2 separate regions of the Homo sapiens genome follow, and region 2 is linked to region 1. Evidence: promoter capture Hi-C in human tissues and cell types (Jung and others, 2019). All regions are on one chromosome and are shown on one strand. The core of a region is centred on a gene start or on the middle of the fragment in contact, and the rest is flanking DNA. Distances in the headings are between cores, read along the strand shown. Region 1 holds the start of C10orf67 (chromosome 10 open reading frame 67). Region 2 overlaps C10orf67 (chromosome 10 open reading frame 67).

What was found. The method cuts DNA at HindIII sites, captures the fragments that hold promoters and counts their contacts. A contact is called where the count stands out against the background at its distance.
Region 2: a fragment that was not itself captured here is called in contact with the fragment with the promoter of C10orf67 in region 1 in 1 of the 25 tissues and cell types used here (hippocampus).

What each region holds. Positions count from the first base shown.
Region 1 is chr10:23,342,845-23,346,462 of GRCh38, forward strand. C10orf67 (chromosome 10 open reading frame 67) reads right to left here and starts at 1,953. Exons shown (of 16, transcript NM_001371909.1): 1 at 1,725-1,953. The coding sequence starts at 1,930. It overlaps C10orf67-AS1 (C10orf67 antisense RNA 1), which reads left to right and starts at 1,113. Exons shown (of 2, transcript NR_155752.1): 1 at 1,113-1,246; 2 at 1,580-2,317. RefSeq lists a silencer at 3,076-3,370. The HindIII fragment of the contact is 15,239 bases long and covers 1-3,618 here.
Region 2 is chr10:23,301,681-23,305,298 of GRCh38, forward strand. C10orf67 (chromosome 10 open reading frame 67) reads right to left here. Exons shown (of 16, transcript NM_001371909.1): 5 at 1,624-1,779. Among named protein-coding and RNA genes, the nearest start is that of C10orf67-AS1, 40 kb to the right of the region's middle. The HindIII fragment of the contact is 4,926 bases long and covers 1-3,618 here.

The DNA.
Region 1 (3,618 bases), core at 703-3,202:
GTGGTCCCTTCTTCTCACCCTGGAGCTGTGTCTGTGTGAGGGGCTTGCCCCTAAGCCAGCCCACCTGGCACCATGAGGCCCCTGCCTTATACAACGGTAAGTTCTCCCATAGCAGCTAAGCTAATTCTGGCTACCTACTGATTTGAAAAGGTTTTTAGAAAGAAATTTGCATTTTCCCAGAAACATCAGCTCTACATTATCCAAATAAACAACAAAGCTAGAACACAGGGGGCAAAGGATTATGAAAGGGACGGGTTTTAAACAAGGATCAAGGAATAGCAAATAATGACATCGGCAAACACTTCTATGATTCTGCTATGGTCTGAGTGTGTCTCCTGAAAATTCATGTTGAAATCCTAACCCCCAAGATGACGATATTAGCAGGTGTGGACTTTGGAGGTGACTAGGTCATGAAAGTGGAGCCCTATAAATGGGATTAGTGCCCTTCTAAAAGCAGGGTGGGAGCGGGTGTGGGGGACGTGGGGGAAAACTCCCTTGCCCGTTGCACCATGTGGAGACACAGCCAGGAGGTACTGTCTGTGCAGAAGGGACCCTCATCAGACCTGGAATCTGCCAGTGGGCTTCCCAGCCTCCAGAACTGGGAGAAACAAATTCCTGTTGCTTATAAGCCACCCAGCCTATGTTGTTTTGTTACAGCAGCCCGAGGGGACTAAGACGGGTACTGTGTCCTAGATTAGCTCATTTAATATTCACTATGATCTATGAAGCAGGCACTACTCTTCATCATTCATGAACGATTATTTCCCGCTGAGAAAACTGAGGCACAGAGCAGTCAGTCGCCTAACTCACGGCCCCTGTGAGAGGGTCGCCAAGATTCTGGAATCCGGGCAGTCTGGCTCCAGAGTCCGTGCTCTTAGTGTCCAGCTATACACTTGAAGAAGTGAAAACTGCAGCTCTTTTCGGACAGTGATCCCCTCGAAAAACAAACAAAAAACTGAAGCCCAGCGGCTGGAGCAAGGGGCCTGGAAAGGCGTTGAGCGAGGGCCGGGGCGCGAGGGCTCCGGGGCGGGCCGGCGGGGACTGCCTCTCCCGCTGGTCACCTGGGGTTGAACTGGAATTGTTCAATAGAGGCCTCGAGGCCCTCCATGATCTTCCGGCCCTCCTCTGTCTCAGGCGAGTCGCCCCAGTTCGCCATTGCAGCCCCGGACGTGCGCCTCCCGCGGAGCCGCTCGCTCTCCTGAGTCGGAGTCGGGAACCCGGCGTCCGTTGCCATGGCGACTCCCAGGTAACCGGCGAAGCGCGGGAATCCGTGGGCGGGGGCCGGGGAGGGCCGCGAGTGGAGGGGGGTGGGGAACGGGGTGGGGAGGGGAAGGGGGAAGGAGATGGGGAGGAGGGGGATAGGGAGAAGGTTGGGGATGGGGGGGAAGGGGAGAGGGAAAGGAAGTAGAGGAGGTGTGGAGGGAAGGAAGAGGGGGAAGGAGTGGGGGAAGGGGGAAGAGATGGAAAGGAGGATGGGGAGGGAGCACGCGCGGGAGGAGGGGAGTGGAGAGGGGGAGGAGGAGGCGGGGCGGGCTCCCAAGCCACCCCGCTGCGCTTTCACTGTCCCGCCTGCCTCAAGGCTTCCCCACAAGACTCCCACAGCCTGGAGGCTGCTGCGATACCCCAGAGGAAAGCTGCACCCCCGTAAATAACCCTTCAGCCTCCCGCCGTGCCCCTGGACCCTGCTCGCTTCCTCCTCTACCCAGGCGCGGAGCTCAGCCTACCTCGTGGACCCGCGCATTTGCGGGGGCTTGAATTCCCGAGCTTCTCGCTTCCTACGCGCGCAGCAGACCCGCAGCTCGGTGGCCTTGGCTTTCATGGCCTCCCAGCGTGTGCCAAAGGTCCCCCTCAAGGAGGAGGAAAAGCAGTGAACCCATCTAATAACTATGCTCATGACATAATGAGCCCTGCGATCCCGGACCAAGGCCATCATAAGAGGAGAGCAGGCTGCCTAATAAGCTGTCTCCACCTGCCACAAACGTAGGCGTTCCTGGACAAAATATTTCCTTGCAGAGATTAAACAGATTTCTATTTAATGAGGTCAGAATGTGAGGCGTTAAGTCTTAAACTATACCATCTAGTGTGGAATTCAATTTTACCAGGTTTCTACAATAATAAGAGTTAATAGTGAAACTGTTGTCATCCTTAGTTTTAAATTATGTATCACTCATTGTCAACTAATAGGAGACACCTATTCTAATATCAGTATGTCATTGTTTTTCTGTAAACGACTGGCTAAATTTATTTTTAAAATGTCATTGTCTGGTTTAGAACTGTCTATACTACATCTGCATTTCAATATATTATCTACAGAAAAATAAGTTTTTTCTCCTCTCTCTTATTATTATTATTATTATTTTTTGGAGCCGGAGTCTCGCTCTGTCGCCCAGGCTGGGGTGCAGTGGCGCGATCTGGGCTCACTGCAACCTCCGCCTCCCGGGTTCAAGCAATTCTCCTGCTTCAGCCTCCCGAGCAGCTGGGACTACAGGCACACAGCACCAAGCCAGGCTAATTTTTTGTATTTTTAGTAGAGACGGGGTTTCACCGCGTTGTGCAGGCTAGTCTAACTCCTGAGCTCAGGCAATCTGCCCCCCTCGGCCTCCCAAAGTGCTAGATAACAGGCGTGAGCCACAGAGCCCGGCCTCTTCTCTGTCTTGTAACAGTAAGTGAAAATAACTTAGCTGGATTTAGAAGCTCAAAACAGGAAAAGAAAAGCACTGTAGCATTATCACTACTATTATGTTTAAAGACAAAGATTAAAAGCCCCAAATGCCAATAAAACATCATAACCAATGCCAAAATCATCTTCTGTGAAGGCTTATTTTTTGGGGGGGAGATGAAGAGAGAAGAGAAAAAGAGTTACTTTTACTCTTTGGAGGTTTTTAATTACAAACTCTAACTTCAGACTTTATTTGGGGAATTTTTATTATATAATCAAAAGGTATTTTAAAAGAAAGAAATTTATATATCTACAATAACTTTTCTTTTTCCTAAGTGATATTTTACCACAATGTATATACATGTTTTAAAATAAAGATTAAAATTTTAAGTTAAAATTTCAAAACCTATCTGTTTAGAGCTGGGCCAAGACAGTGTAAAGAATGTGACAAGCTGTTGGCTATTTTCCTAGTGCAATTATAAATGAATCGTTTGAAACTGAGGAGAGAGATCGCACAGAAGATTTCATGAGTCATTGGTCAGCTCTGTACAGCATTTGTTGACTGATATAGTCTGCATAGTTACGCCATCCCACAAAAACATGCATTGAACAGAACATCTTTGTTTGAAACCTTGCTATAGCATATCAAGGAGTTTCAGATTTCAGTGTCTAAGAGACCACGCTATGATGATGATTGTTTTTGAAACCGTTAACTACATAATACTTCTCTTCTTGTCAGTTACCTGTATTTTATCTCACAGGTGTTCCGGCTTATAAAATTGTTTATTTCAGATCAGATTCTCACCTGTAGTAACTGGCGTTGATGTGGTCAAAACATTTGTCATATTAAATCCAGGCCTCTTTTATCACATGCTAAATTCATTGATGGCTTTAGTGGAAAGCTCATGAACTCTGCAGTAAATATTAAATATATACAGGCTTTGAAACTTACTCGATTT
Region 2 (3,618 bases), core at 369-2,868, 41 kb before region 1:
TGCGGTGGTGGTGGGCCTCTTCCAAGATGGTGACAATCCTCGTGTTCTCTGACCTGGGGTTCTTGGCCTCATGGATTCCAAGGAATGGAATCTTGGGCCATGCAGTGAGTGTTATAGCTCTATTAGAAGCCATGGGCCATGGAAGAGAACCGTGGAACCCAGTAACTAGCGTTCAGCTCGATTATGATCAACCCGGGCACTTAGCCATGCAGGAACAATGGCAAGCCTTTAGCCTGATCGGGAGCGGCAATGGGCGCCCCGCTGGATCAGGAGCACAGCAGACATCCTGCTGGATCCAGAGGGATGGAAGTCAGCGGTGGGTCTGCGATGGCGGCAAACAGCAGAGGTGGACGGTGAGCGAAAGCTCAGCTCAAGCCGTAACAAACACGGACCAGAAGAGTGCAGTTACAAGATTTAATAGAGTGAAATAGAGTGGAAACAGAGCTCCCATACAAAGGGAGAGGACCCAAAGAGGGTAGCCCTCTATGTGTATTAATCTATTAATAATTATTAATGTATTATAATATATCATATTATAATATATTATGATAACATAATCTATACATTATAATCTGTACATTTTCTATATGCATATGTATATTATATATTCACTACAACCTTTAATTCTTACTGTAGAGGATAAAGCTCCCCCTCTGTAAGTGGACTTTAGATTCAGGTGAACCTTGGTTCATGTACCATCTTTACCATCTACTACGTTTGCCCATGAGGAAGTTACTTAACCACCCTGTCTCTGCCTCTTCATCTGCAAACTGAACTGTGAGAATGAGAAGAGATGCCATCGATGAAGTATCTGATACCTGCTATTGCTATTCAATAGACTTTTATTCCTCCTGGGTCCCAGCATCTGTTAGCCTTTCCAAATCAAACAATCAGCTTCTTGTTCTTAGAACTTAAGAATAAAATCCTCTCCAGCTCTGGACCATGGTTGGGCCTGGGACATCCGGTGGCTCAGAGCAGACATGAGATGACAATGAATTCGTTCTCAGGATCCACATTTTCCAAAGCCCTTAAACTTCCTCCTTGACAGGAGTTTAGGTTCTTCTTTCTGCCTTCTCAGTCATTCCATTTTTGCTCCCATCAGTAGTTTGTCTAACCAGTAAAGCAGCTCCTGGCTCCCACTGCAACAGGAAAAACTGAGGGGAAAATCCTCTGGGATTTTTCTTCTTGATATTTTTATTTAAATGTCATTCTGTTCCAAGTTGGCTTCTTGGAAGCTCTGGCTTGGAAAGATTAGCTTTGTGTCTTTCAAACTACTTTGACTGCAAAAAAAGGTGGGAGTCTTCGGTTACAACAAAAATCCACTCCCACACTCTTCTAGAGTAGGACATTTTTTGCAGTGGGAGGTAAGTTATTTTATTTCCATTTAAACAAAAATTGTATTTTTAATTTTATTGCTCCTATTCATTATATTGCTCCTATTCATATTGTTATGGGTTTTCTAGAATAGGCCATTGAGCAGAAAAGAGTTAGACTGGCTTATATTATGGGGAGATGCCCAAAATGCAGCAATTGGATTTTAATTTATCATTAACTCAAGCTTTTAACTATTTATGACTTTATTTATGTATATTAAAATTAATTATTCCTTGCCTTGAAACTTACCATTTTGTGAAATCCAAAATCTTTATATTGGTCTAGTTCTTCTTTTAATTCTTTAATAACTTCTTCTTTCTCTTTCAGTTTTCTTAACAAAATATTTGTTTTGACAGTACTCGCATCTTGCAAAGAAACATTCTCTTCTTCTACCTCAAAGAATTGCTAGGGACAAAAAAAAGCAGCATTAAAAATTAGACACTAAGCATTAAAAATTAGGCACTTACACTAAATTAGACACTCAGCATTAAAAATTAGACACCACCAGAAAACATTTCATCTTTTAAGCTACTGTTTTGTGAAGGTTATTTTTGTAACCTGCATACAATTTTAGTAAGCAACTTTATTTATATTGAAATATATGCTTAAAAAGTATTACGCACTATGTAGCACAGTGTTATCCTATAAAACACAAAGCATGGTCAGTTACTCTTACTGTATCAGCCATGTAAACTACAATAGTAAAGAGCGAGATGGAAGATTAGGAGAACGTCTACTCAACAAGAATTTGGCAGCCATCCGTGGACAAAAGTTCCCTTGAGGGAGATTTGGGACCTGGATAGAAGACTGCAAAACTCTAGTGGAGCCCAAGACTGAGGAGGGCTGTTTTGACTGGCAGGCTGCACCTAGGTGGCAGGCTCACTGACCATGGTCCCAGCTACAAACCCAGAAATTGCTTCATTGCCCTGTGGACTTGGTCCTGCCTCTAGAACCATCTGCCAAGAAATCCAGGAGGAATCACATTCACCTGTACCTCTGGTGACAAGCCCACAGGCCTCAGTCTCAGCTGTGGATCCTGAATCAGCTCTGTAACTCAACCAAACCCACTTTCAGCTGCAGTTTGAGACCAGTCCTGCCTGCCCAGGCACCTGCTGGGAGTCATGCCTATTTGTGCCTTCAGAAGCAGGTTGGCTGACCTCAGTCTCACAGCAGATCTTGAAACAGCCCTTTAACTTGGTCCCAGCCCTCTCAGCTGCAGTCTGAGAGCAGTCTTGCCCACCCAGGGGCTTGCTGAAAGCTATGCCTTTCTGTGCCCCAAAGGCAGGCCCACTGATTTTGATTCCACTGCAGATCTTGGGGTGGGCCTGCAACCTAGTTCTGTCCCTTCCTAGCCTTCATCCAGAAGCAGTCCTGTCCACCCAGAGATCTGCCAGGAAACATGCCCATCAATGCCTCTGGAGGCAAGCTGCTGACCTCAGTCTGATGGAGAAGCCTGAAGTAGCCCCGTGACCCAGCTCGAGCCCACTCAGCCATGGTCCAGGAGCAGTCCTGCTTGCCCAGGAGCCTGGCAGGAGGCACACCTTTCTATGTCTCTGGAGGCATGTCTGCAGACCCCAGTCTCAGTGTAAGCCATGAAGCAGCCCTGTAATTCCCTTCAAGCTCCTGTCAGCCATGGTCCATGGCCACTTCTCCTTGCCCAGGTACCAACTCAGTAACCCAGCAGGAACACTACAAGGGACCTGAAGGAATACACACTCATCTGTGTGTCTGGTAACAGGCCCACCATCTGCAAACCCAACTGTGAAACCTGAAGAATCTTCTTTACCCAGCACCAACTCTACAGACTAAGGTCCTGGAAGCAGTTTATTCTTTCCAGGGGCCAGACAGGATCCAAGCCTGTTCAAGCCCCTAGTAATAGGCCCACTAACATGGTCCCCATTGCAGACCCAGCAGCAGCCACGTAACTCGGCTGCAACCCTACTCAACTGCAATCCTGGAGGCAATCTTATCAGCTTAGGGACCCAAAAGAAGAAAATCTTTACCTACCAAAACCAGTCTGTAATGACTGGAGGAAGTGTCTGCTCATCCAAATGCACAAACACGAACATAAGGCTATATAGTTAGTGAAGAATCAGGCAAACATGACACTCTCAAGAAAATGAATACAGTTCCAGTAACTGACTCCAAAAAAATGGAGATCTGCAAATCATTTGATAAGTAAATCAAAATAATTATCTTTAAGAAGCTCAATGAGACGCAAGAGAACACAGATATGCAGTTGAA